Regions from separate parts of the Homo sapiens genome. Here all the other regions are linked to region 3. The links are contacts of gene promoters, found by promoter capture Hi-C in blood cells and fetal thymus (Javierre and others, 2016). All regions are on one chromosome and are shown on one strand. The core of a region is centred on a gene start or on the middle of the fragment in contact, and the rest is flanking DNA. Distances in the headings are between cores, read along the strand shown. Region 1 holds the start of GNB3 (G protein subunit beta 3). Region 2 holds the start of PIANP (PILR alpha associated neural protein). Region 3 overlaps C1RL-AS1 (C1RL antisense RNA 1).

What was found. Contacts are between HindIII fragments. The CHiCAGO score rates a contact against its expected background, and 5 or more counts as called.
Region 1: the fragment with the promoter of GNB3 here is called in contact with a fragment that was not itself captured in region 3 in 5 of 17 cell types (non-activated CD4 T cells, activated CD4 T cells, naive CD8 T cells and 2 more); the score reaches 8.8 in non-activated CD4 T cells.
Region 2: a contact is called between the fragment with the promoter of PIANP here and a fragment that was not itself captured in region 3, in 2 of 17 cell types (non-activated CD4 T cells and naive B cells). The highest score is 6.0, in non-activated CD4 T cells.

The regions. Positions count from the first base shown.
Region 1 is chr12:6,839,072-6,843,052 of GRCh38, reverse strand. GNB3 (G protein subunit beta 3) reads right to left here and starts at 2,128. Exons shown (of 10, transcript NM_002075.4): 1 at 2,020-2,128; 2 at 1,709-1,795; 3 at 1,429-1,467; 4 at 1-83. The coding sequence starts at 1,765. P3H3 (prolyl 3-hydroxylase 3) reads right to left here. Exons shown (of 15, transcript NM_014262.5): 14 at 3,913-3,981; 15 at 3,206-3,756. The coding sequence ends at 3,592. The HindIII fragment of the contact is 12,557 bases long and covers 1-3,981 here.
Region 2 is chr12:6,698,495-6,702,422 of GRCh38, reverse strand. PIANP (PILR alpha associated neural protein) reads left to right here and starts at 1,608. Exons shown (of 5, transcript NM_001244014.2): 1 at 1,608-1,809. RefSeq lists an enhancer at 2,327-2,828. The HindIII fragment of the contact is 12,862 bases long and covers 1-3,928 here.
Region 3 is chr12:7,111,496-7,115,510 of GRCh38, reverse strand. It overlaps C1RL-AS1 (C1RL antisense RNA 1), which reads right to left. Exons shown (of 12, transcript NR_026947.1): 5 at 3,905-4,015; 6 at 3,447-3,504; 7 at 292-381; 8 at 1-125. Among named protein-coding and RNA genes, the nearest start is that of C1RL, 4.3 kb to the right of the region's middle. RefSeq lists an enhancer at 1,743-2,244. The HindIII fragment of the contact is 4,009 bases long and covers 1-3,709 here.

The sequences.
Region 1 (3,981 bases), core at 879-3,378, 270 kb after region 3:
GCGTAAATCTTGGCCAGGTGTCCCCTTAACGTCCGCCGCGTCCGCATCTGGACTCGTCCCACCACCTCTAGGCCAGACACCAGCTGCAGAGAGAGGGGCACTGAATATCAGGGTGAGCAGGTTACGTGCCCAGATGTCTGTCACTGCCACTGATCTATACAAGTTCCCGCTCTGTGCCAGGCTCTAGGTCAGGCCCCCAGCCTTAGAGAAATAAGTCTCTGCCCTGGAGTGTCTTAGACTGATGTGGGAAAGAGATGCATGCATGGCCAGAGGTGTGTTGCTTGTAAGTGTTTAACAAGCACCTCTCCAGTGTTGGTGAGGAAGGTGGGAAGGTGATTTCCACGATACGAATACTTGCACTTTGACCAGTTTCCAGCTGCCAATGTGAGGTCATTGGAAACAGATTTGGGAAGAGATGCACAGAGCTGGCTCTCCCAAGCCGAGAGGAGCCTGCTTGCACCCACCGCTGCAGCACGGCTAGCTTTTTAACTGGGTGCCTGGGGCATCACCATGACCCTGAACTGTACCTCCTGAAATCTGTGGTACTATGCCCCTTGAGCTCTAACCACATTTTAGACTTAGGCTGGGGGTCCAGAGTGAACAGACTTGATTTGCCATCACTTGCATTGCTATCTTTTTTTAAAAAGTTAAAAGCAATTTTTTTTATATTAAGAAGAGATCTCACTATGTTGCCCAGGCTGGTCTCAAACTCCTGAGCTCAAGTGATCCTTTCACGTCAGTCTCCCAAAGGGCTGGGATTACAGGCGTGAACCACTGCGCCCGGCCTGCTTTGTTATCTTGGGCAAGTTGCTTCACCTCCCTGAGTCTGTTTACTCAAGGTGTAAAATGAGGCTTATCATAGCACCTACCTTACAGAGATATCATGAAAATTCAATGAAATCAGGTATTTATGCAGCTTAGCCCAGTATCTGGCTCATAAAAAGTGTTCACTATTAACATATTTAATCCAATCTAAGATGCATCACTAAGAAAGAAAAGATGCTGTCAATTCTAATTGAAACAATGATCCATTGCTGAATGCACCTTGATTTCAGAGATGTCAAAATGTGAAGAAATGTGCATCTTAGAATTGACAAAATACAGCATAGAAAACTAGCAGCTAGAGTCTACAAGGGCTTTATAATTTACAAAGTACTATCGCTTCTTCATCTTCAAGGCCCTGGGAGGGGGCTGTGGTCACTCTTGTTCTACGGATGAGAATAGGAACCGTGTCCGCATCTTTCGCATCCAATATGGTGCCTGGCTCAGAGCAGGTCCCGCTAAAATGTTGGTCGAATGAATTAATTAATGGGTTTCCTCACTCCAAGGACGTGCTGTACTAATGCTCGGAGCAACGCGCTATTGCGGGTCGGGGAGCTCCCTTCCCCTCCCCCCATGCCCTGCCTTCCGGGGGACAGGGGGTCTTACCTCTGCCAGAGTAACGTCAGCACAGGCTTTCCTGGCATCCTGCAGGGAAAGCAGACATCAGGGGAGCAAGGGCGAGGTGGGGGTGGCAGGTGCATGGGCCTTCAGGGCAGGTTGGTCTTGGGGCTCTGGGGCTTGGGGGTCTCAAATATGCGAACCAAGTTTAGAAAGTCCCTGGTCACTTCTAGTCACTCAAGAGCAAACCCAGCCCCCTCCCCCTGGGCCACGCTCCTCATGTCCCCAGCTGTTTTCTGGGGCCCCAGGGGTAGGGCTCTGGAGTTACTGCAATCTGCTTCTTGAGCTGCTCCGCTTCCTGACGCAGTTGCTCCATCTCCCCCATGGCTGACAGGTCGAGGGGTCACTCTGGCTCCTGCCAGGAACATGGGGTCGGTGTTGAGGAACCCCCCACCAGGCTGTGCTTCTGCCCTTCGTGCCCACACCAGACTCCAAGACACAGGGAAACGACTGGGTGGCTGCACCCTCTCCCCAGCTAGGCCCTCCAAGTTTGAGGTCCTTTGCGTCCAGCCCCAGCCTGCCTGAGCCCTGCCTGCGCCCCAGCCCAGGAGAGCAGAGCCCAGGCCAGCTCCCTCTTACTTGGGCTCTGGCTGGACCTCGGCCGGGTTTCCAGCTCCGGTTCCTGGGAGCCTCCTTACTCCCTCAGCTGCGACGCCCGCGCCCGCCCGTCACCTGCCCAGGCTCTGCTGCCAGAGGAGCTGGCCTGGCCTGGCCTGGCCCCGACCGGCGGGGGGTTGGGGGGGCCTGACAGGGAAGGGTAGAGCCAACCACAACGTCAGGCAAATGAAATCAGCTGGCAGGGGTGGGGGGAAGGGGTGGGGGGAGGGAGGGAGGTGTACGGATTCCAGAGAGACTTGGGCCCAGCCGGGAGGAGGGTTGGGGGCAGGAGTGTGGGGCCATAGAGAGGGGCAGCCCCCACCACAAGCCCTGAGAGAGGAGGGGGTGAAGGGGTGCTTCCCTGGTCAGTCTCTGCAGGCAGAGATAAGAGCATCAGGCCCCACAGGATTAGAGCAAAGCTGTGAGGATTAAGGGTTGGGGTTTGGGAGGGGTGCAAAGGAGCAGACAACTACAGCTCCAGTGGCCCCCCTGGTCCCGGCCCCCATCCATGGTGATGATCTTGGCAGTCAGGGCCACTTAGCAACCAGGCCAGGAGGTGGGATATAAGGGTGATAGATGGCCCCATTGTCAGTACCTCAAACTGTGCTCCTCAGCTCAGGGTGGTGGGGAAGAGGGTTTGGTGAGTATGGGAGGGTACAGGCAGGAGCTGAGATTAGAAAGGACTGATCTGGATAATCCTTCTTCTCGACAAACCCCAACCAGCTGCCTCTGGGTCTGATCCTGTTGGGGGAGAAAGGTACAGGGGACCCACAGAGAAGGATGGACAGGTCTGCCCCTATTGTGGGCGGGCAACGGATTTCAAGTGGAGGGAAGGCCCGCACGCTGCTCCCAGGCTGGGGTCTGGCCCCCTCCTTGCCCTCTCGAGGCTGTGAAAGCAGGGGTCAGAGAGAAAGCAGGCGGCCCTAAGTCTCAGCAAAGCTCAGAGAGGGAAGACAGGGCTTACACTTGGAGGCCTAAGGAGCAGCTGCCAGGGGCTTGGGTCATTTGCATGAGGGGAGCAGGTGGCTGAGATTTCCCTGACAAATCACAGGCTCCAGGCGCCCCGCCTCTGGGAGGCCCAAAGACACCTGTCTCCTCCCAGGCCAGCCAGAGCCACCCCCACCTCCAGCCATCACAGAATCTGTGATACACTTGACTGGCCCCTGGCTGAGAGATCTTCACGACCTTTATTGCACAGACTGGGAGAGAGGAGCAGGGTTATACCTCCCAACCCCACCATCCTCTTCATTTAAAGCATCAGCCTCCTCCCCTGCCATTTCTGTTCAGGGAGGCACAGTGTTCCCCATCTGTCCAGGGCTGCAGGTCCGGCAGCGGGGCCCCGTCCCAGCTCCCCAGGCCTGGTGAGCTCCAGGCTAGCCTGTGCACTGTCCTCTGAGTCCAGGCCCTTGTAGGTCCCCAAGATGGTGGGGGTGCAGGGACAGAGAGCTTGCTGTTCTGCTCCTGATGTCACACAGGGGCTTCCTGTGTGTCCTGGCATCAAGATGGCCTTCCACAAGTCAAGTGGCCACATCCTCAAGGAGCTGGCTCAGCCACTCACAGCTCCTCCCGAACCCGAGGTGCCCTTCCAGTCTTGTCTTGGACCCTCTGGTGCCTGCGGCTAGGGGGCTCTGGGGAAGGGTCTTTGCTGGGCATTTCTTCCTCTTCCTCTTCCTCCTCCTCCTGTGACTCCTGCAGCAGTTCTTTGGCTTCTATCCACTCCTGGGGTTGGGGAGGAGAGTGTGGCCCATTCCCTGCACCCACCTTCCCTGGGTCAGCTCAGCCCCTGACCCTCACCGACTGTGAGCCTTCTCGGGGGCTCCTTGCCCACCCTTCACGCACCAGGAGAACCACATCCCTTCCTACCCCGCTCCTTACCTGCTCCCTGTGCTCAGGTGCCCACGTGTGCCACAGTGCCAGGGCACAGCGCCGTCCCCGAGTCACGGC
Region 2 (3,928 bases), core at 359-2,858, 410 kb after region 3:
TTTGATTTTTAAAATATTATCAATATAGGAAAAACTAGTTTGTAAAGACAAGGGCAGAAGCAGGGACCAGTGAGGAAGCTATTATGATAATCTGGATGAGACATGATGGCTTAGACCAAGACTATAGCAATAAAGATAGAAGGAGATGAATTCGGGATATATTTTGGACGCAGAGCCCACAGGACTTGTTGGTGAATTAGATACAGGGAGAGAATCAGTGAAAAAAAGGGGAAGGGAGGGATGTTTCCTAGATTTTTAGCCTGAACAACTAGTAGTTGTGAAGCCTCAGGATGGGGATCACTGGGAGAAAAATGGATTGGGGGTGGGGGAATTCAAGACATCTATTTTAGTCAAGTTAGCTTTGCATGGCTATTAGACATCCAAGTGGAGATGTCAAGTAGGCTGTCGGATAAATGAGTCTGGCGCTCTGGATATAAATTTAGGACTCACTGACATTTACATAGTATTTAAGCCCTGGGACCGGATGAGATCACTGGACAGAGAATGTGGAAAGAGAGAATGGCCAAGGACTAAGCCCTAGGAGGCTCCAACATTTAGAGGTCACCCGAGGAAGACTAAGAACAGTCAGTGAGGTTGGAGGGAAATGAGGAGAGTGTGGTGTCCTGGAAGTGCCCTGAGGAAAAACAGCGTAGTGTGGTAGAGAGGGATGGGATCCAGGTGGTGGGAGAAGGGGCAGGAGAGGCTACTTTTGATAGAGACATTAGGGAAGGCCTCCCAGAAGGCGTTGGATCTAAGTGAGACTGGAATGAAAACAGTAAGTCATTGTGAAAAGCCAGGGAAATGTATTACTGAGGGAACAGCAAGTGCAAAGGCCCTGAGGCAGGTTAAACCTGTCTCCAACCAGGAAATCCACCAGGTCCCATGTGGCTGAAGCATAGAAATCTTTAGGAAAGGCAATCAGAGAGCCACCTAAGAGCCAGGTTATATAGGGTCTTGTAAGTCACAGCACGGAGTCTAGGTATTCCAGTGCTGGAAAAGCCCAGGAATTTCGACGTGATCCACTTAATGCATGGTAGCAGGGCCAGAGTGAAATAGGGGATCAAGCTGTGGGGATAATCCAAAGATGGTGCAAGGTCCTTCCTCCCCAGTCCTTTCCTCCACCCCTTGCCCCCAGCCTTGACCTCAGGCACTTTCTACAGCGGGCAAAACCAAGTTGGGGGACAGGCAGTGGTGACTCACGCCTGTAATCCCAGCACTCCGGGAAGCTGAGCGGGAAGGATCGCTTGAGCCCAGGCGTTCGAGACCGGGCTGGGCAACACAGCGAGACCTCATCTCTACAAAACACAATACAAAAGAACAAAGTTGGGAATGCAGAGCATTGAGTGACTCAGAATCTCAGAAACTGACTGAGGCGACCATGGGTGTCCCTGGAGTTGGGGTGAAGGAGGTGGGGAGACTGCCATCAGAACCCAGGGAAGCGGACGGTCGCTGGACCCTGCCAGCCTCTTCAGCCCTCCACCTGGGACATAGCCTGGCTTGACTCCTGCAGCGCGGCAGCAGGAGGGTTAAACCGTGCGTGGCCTCCGGCGCGGGGGGGAGGCGGAGACGGAGACGGAGCGGTCCCAGCCGCCGCGCCGAGCCCAGCCGAGCCGAGCCGAGCCGAGCCGAGGCGAGCATCTCCCACCGCCGCCGCCCCGCGCCCCAGGCGCCCGCCCCCCACCCGCTCCAGCGCCCTGCCGCGGGCCAAACCTCCCCACCATGCCCCGCACCCCGCCCGCTCCTGCGACCCCCCAGCCCCGCTCAGTCCCGAGCGCCCGCAGTCGTCGCGCCGCCGCGCCAAGCATGCAGGTGAGTGAGAGGGACCCCCACGCCCCCACCCGCGGGGAGCCCGGCCCTGCCCTTCCCGGCTCCGCGCCCTGCGCCTCCTGCCCCTCCCGACGCGGTCCCTCGCCCGGGACAAGGCCTCCAGCCTCCCAGCGCCCCTTCCCCGAAGGGCTCTCCATCCCTCCGCGGTCCTGGCTCGCTCCCGCCCTCCCTGGCGCAGCCGTCCCCGTCCCCGCGGCTGCCTCCATCCCGCCTCGGCTCGGCGGGCGGCTCCGCGCAGTCTCCTGCTTCGGGTCCCCAGTCCGCTCTCGGCACTCCCTGCCTCGGGGTCCCTTCGCCGACCTCCTTTTCCTCGTCTCCCCCCACTCTCGCCGCTCTCCAGCCCTGTGCGGGGAGTGCGGGCCTGCGGGATGGGTGGGATGGGGGCCACGCTGGGGCTGGGGCCCGGCTCCCGCACCCCGAGGCTCCTGCCCCACCCCCAGCTCGTCTCCTGCGCACAACAGGTCGGTGAGAAGCTGGGAGAGGGGTGGGGGTGGCGCGCCAGCCCGGGGACTGCGGGCTTCCTGGAGGGGGCGGCTGAAGCTGTGCGGGGCCCAGGGACTGGGTTGGCGCTGGCTGGGGGTGGGGATGCACAGGCGGAGGGGCGATAGTCCTAGAGTCAGCTGGCCACAGATGCGCCCTGGGAGCCCTTCTCCGCTTCACTGGTTCGCTCTACACGCCTCGCTCCCTCCCTCTAGCTTTCTTCCTTTCCCCTCTCTCTCCCTTCTTCCCACCATGCCCCCATCCCTATGTCTTTCGGTATCTCCACATCCCTTTACATTTGGGGGAGCAATTCCGAACTCCTCCATCTTTGCTGCTCCCGCCTCTGCTTCCCAGCCCGTTCCTCGTGTCATTTTTCCTTAAGCATTTATGTTCTCTCCTTCCCCACTTCCTTTCTCCCCATCCTGGGCTTTCCCCCCTTTTCTCCCATCCCCTTACTCTCCACTCCTCTGGCTGTCCTGCCTGGACCGCTCTCTCCTTCTCCTCCTGCCCCTTCTTCCCCTGCACCTGTGACCCCTTCATCCTCTCCGTTTCCCCTCCCTGACCTTTTCTCTCATCCTTTCCTCCCTTCGGCATCCTCCACAGTTCGAGTCTTCTGTACCCACTCTCCTCCTCTCTTCCCAGTTCTCTCTTTTTCAGGACTGCCTGCTCTCTCTCACCCTGCACTCCAGGCCAGCTTCCTCTTCACATTTCTCCTCTCTCACTCTTAACCAGCCTTCCATCTCCCAGCCCTTCACCCCTTCCCATCTCTCCCACTGCCTGCTTCCCCACGCCCTTCCCGTGACTTTCCCATCTTGTTCCCTTGTTGTTCTCTGGGAAGATTCAATGGGCAGATTTATTTATTTTATTTTTTGAGTCGGAGTCTCGCTCTTGTTGCCCAGACTGGAGTGCAATGGTGTGATCTCAGCTCACTGCAACCTCCGCCTCCCAGGTTCAAGGGATTCTTCTGCCTCAGCCCTCTGAATAGCTGGGATTGCAGGCGCCCACCACTACCCCCGGCTAATTTTTGTATTTTTAGTAGACACGGGGTTTCACTATGTTGGCCAAGCTAGTCTCGAACTCCTGATCTCAGGTGATCCACCCGCCTTGGCTTCCCAAAGTGCTAGGATTACAGGCGTGAGCCACTGCGTCTGGCCCATTGGGCAGATTTAGACCCAGAATCCACAGGAAACGGGTATCCTATCTTCACTCCCTCTGGGGAGCCTGCCCCTCCTGGATCCACCACCCTCAGCTCTGAGAACACACCCTTTCTCTTTCAAAACCAACCATCCCGATTTTCCCAGGATTCTTTACCCAGGAGAGCCACATTTGAGGGGGTGGTTTCTTCCTGACTCCACCTCCCTTCAGAGGGCACCTATGCACTTGGATGATTAAACATTAAGAGCAAAAATTATATTCTGTAGTTTTTCTCCCACTCACCTCTCTCTTTCTGTCTCTTTCCTTCCATCCCTCCAGCTCTTCATTCCTTTCTCCTGAAGATGCAGACTCCTGGGGCTAATCATAAGACAAATGCCTGGCACTGCCAGAGGGGTGGGAGGGCTGGGAGGGCTGGAAGGGCCCCCCTGCACGTACACACACTCACTGGCTTGCTCAGATTGACTTC
Region 3 (4,015 bases), core at 456-2,955:
CCCAGGTGAGGACCAGCCAGGCCCTCTCCAGGGCAGGATCCTTCTCCTTCTACTCACAGAGCTGCTCTCTACAACCAGGTACCAACAGTGAGGAGGCGGTCACGTGGCAATGATCAGGCTTCTCACTAGAGAATAGTAAATGGGGCAGGGCCGTGTTCAGACCCTCAAACTCTACCCAACCCCATCTCCCAGATGCACCTGTCTACCACCTGCTTCTCTTCCTCCCTGCACACCTTGAAAACTCCAAAACCTGGTGCATACTCCCCACTCTGCCCCATCCCAAGAACTCACCCACAGACGCAGGTGGACACCTAGATGTGCTGAGTCCTAGGGCTGCCACAGCCTGCAGGACAAAATTCCTCCCTCAAGGAACCCACAGCCCTGTGGGAAAGACAGACACACGGGCAGGAGGTTATCATGCATCAAGAGTCCATGAGCACAGGGAAAGTCATTTTCTCTGAGTCAAAGAGGGCTTCCCAGAGGAGAGGACACGGGGAGAGAGGTGAGTAAAAATGGCCGGCATCCAGGGCATGAGTACTACATGCCGAACGCTGACTCTTCTCAGGAACCCAAGCACAGGTTATTGTCCCCATTCTACAGATAAGAAAACTAAGGAACAGAGAATTTTAAGTAATTTGCCAAAGGTTATACATGAAATAAAAGACAGAGATGGGATTTGAACCCAAACAGATTGGAGCCTGACCACCCAACCCTCAGTTTCTCCACCTCGCCCCTATTGACGTTCAGGACCAGGTAACATTTTGTTGTGGGACCTGCTGCCTTGTGCACTAGGATGCTTACCAGCATCACTGGCCTGTATCCACTAAATGCCAGTAATGGAAAAAAGAAATCTCTAGATATCATCAAATATCCCCTGGGGAGCAAAACTGCTCCTTGTTGAGTACCACTGATCTAACCATTTTGCTATTCTATTCTGCTTCCTAAGCAAGTAATGATATTTATTGTTTGCCAAATGACAGACACTGCCCTAAGCAATTCTGGTTATTAACTCATTTAACCCTCACACCAACCCTCTGGTGTGGGTACCGTTGTCCTCATCCTTGTTCTTCAGATGAGGATGTTAAGAGGCACAGAGAAATTATGTAAGCTGGCCTTGGTCACCAAACTTTTAAATGGTAGAGCCTGGGTTTAAACCTGGTGAGTGTGGCACACAAGCCCACTCCTTTAAGCAGCATGTTATGCTGATGACTGAAGAACACGGCATTGGTCGGGGAGTCACACATGCAAACGCAAGGCATGTTTGTGAAGCCATAGCATCATGACCGCGCCTGGAACACACATGCGAGGCGGCAGCGGTGGAGAGCGAAGCCAGAAAGTCATGCAGAGCCTGATTATGAAGGAAGAACCTGACGAGACAAACAAGTGGCTGGGGCTTCATCTCATGGATCAGGAGGCACAGTCATTGAAAAGTTTTAACCTGGGAAGGGGCACGATTGATTGAGATTTTAGATACTGGCAGAGTAGGGAGGATGGGCTTAAGGGCTAAACCTAGTGGCTGACACTCCATTGGGGTTGAGCTAGCGACTGCCTAGGTGTCCATAAGGCATGGAAGTCAAGGCCCTGACATGAAAGCCTGAGATAACTTGGGGGTGGAGGAGTGTGACCCATTAGGGTCACCCCTCTGCCCTGGGCTGTCCACATCTCCACTGGCCATGCCAGACAGAAGCAAAGGGTCCCAGTCTGGCTGACTCAGCCGCCTCATCACCCCTGCTGCTCTTCACCTCGCTCCTGTATCTCCCTCCTCACCTGGCACTGGGCACAAAAGCCCCCACGTGTCCCAGCCCAGGGCAAGGTATCTAGAGATAAGACAGGGAAGCTGTGGACAGAAATGGCTCGTGCTGCCCCAGACTCCTCTGCCTGGGCTCTCCTGTGGCTGTTTGGATTCCAGGAGAGGGCAAGCTCCTCTCTAAATGCTGGGGGCTCATGAAGGCTGCAGAGAAACTCCCTGGCCAGGAAGCCCCAAGGCACTTTCTGTTGTCCTGCCCTTCCCCTTTCAGGACAGAAGGGGGCAGCACCAACACGATTTTCAAAAATAAAACCAAAAATAAAGTCACTGGAGCACCCCAACCTTGTTTGCCCAGCTAAGATTGGAAAGACCCATGCCTGGCCTAAGTTTATATGCAAGGACAAAAACTTCTTCATTAATCATGTGGATTAAAGATGCCGATTAAAGGATCCATCCCCTCATTCTCTAATCCTGTCTGGCTCAGAAAGGACCATCTGGTCACAATTATAATTTCAGATACATTTATTTTGTAACTATCAAAGTTATTAAATAATATTAAAGAAGTTTTACTAAACAGAGAAACATGGTTTAAATCATCCACAACCCCATACTCTAATAGGAAGCAGTTATTTTAGATTTTTCTCACGGGTGCTTTCTATATTTGTAAACATAGTATCCTTACAATTTGGTAGCTTGCTACCTTTACTTAGCATGCCAGGAATCCCAGCTCCCTTACCTGCACTTGGGGGCCTTAACATAGAGCAGAGGTGGCCTATGCTCTTTAGGGACACTTGGGTAAGGGAAAGGGAACTGAAGTAAATGATTGAAGTGTTAGCAATAAGGTGACCAACTGTCCTGGCGTGTCGGGGAACTTAACTGGTTTTAGTGTTGAAAACCTCATGTCCTAGGAAAACCTCATTTCTAGACAGACCAGGATGATTTCTAATAGGTTACCCTATTAGAAAAAAGTCCCCCCAAATTCAGACATCCATTTTCATTTCTACATCGGCCTTTCAGCTATACTTCTTTGCTTTTTTCTACTAGTAGTCACCCTAGGGCAACTGTTCTCAAACTTTATACCCTTAAAAAATTATTGAGAACTCCAGAGAGCTTTGGCTTATGTAGGGTATATCTATTAATAGTCACTGTACTAGAAATCAAAATTGAGAACATTTTAAATCACAAAGATACACAAGCACGCATCCCGCTCACTGCCACGGATGAATCATTGCACATCACGTAGCCTCTGTAAATCCACCATATACCATGACAGAATGAGAGGGAAAAAAGCAAAGAACATCTGAGTATTTTTATGAAAGTCATTTTGTTACCTCACAGACCCCGTGAAAGGATCTTAGGGCCTGTGGGTCTTCCCACACCACAGGGTGGAGACCCGCTGCTCTGGGAATTAGTCTGCATCCTAAACTCCAGTTTTCTCAGTTCCTATTGTACCACTTCATGTGAAATGAAGGAAACTTGTAACCATGAGTCCACCCCCTTGTCCTCTATACCAGCAGTCCCCACCCTTTTTGGCACAAGGGACTGGCTTCATGGAAAACGGTTTTTCCACAAACCAGGGATGGGGCCAGAGGGAGATGGTTTCAGGATAGTTCAAACACATTACATTCATTGCATGTTTTCTTTCTATTATTATTGTTATTGTAATATATAATGAAATATTAATAATTATACAACTCACCGTAATGTAGAATCAGTGGGAGCCCTGAGCTTGTTTTCTTGCAACTAGACGGTCCCATCTAGGGGTGATAGGAGACAGTGACAGGTCACCAGGCATTAGATTCTCATAAGGAGCACACAGCCTAGATCCCTCCATGCATAGTTCACAATAGGGTTCGTGCCCCTATGAGAATCTAATGCTGCTGCTGCTGCTGCTGCTGACAGAAGACGAAGTTCAGATGGTAATGTGAGTGATGGGAAGCAGCTACAAATACAGATGAAGCTTTGCTTGCTCACCACCACTCACCTCCAATACTGGTCCACGGCTCAGGGGTTGGGGACCCCTGCTTTATACTACAGTCTTCATATATGTTACAGCTACATATGTTATAAACCTCACAATACAATGTTATAATTTTTGCCTGGAACAGTTCTACATATTTTAAAGACATTAAAAAGAAAATCGTATTTTATATTTACCTTCAAATTTACCGTTCTTCTTATTCCTGTCTGCAGCTCTGCTCTTCCAATTTGAGACAGCGTCTCACTCTGTCACCCAAGCTGGAGTGCAGTGGCACCGTCATGGCTCAC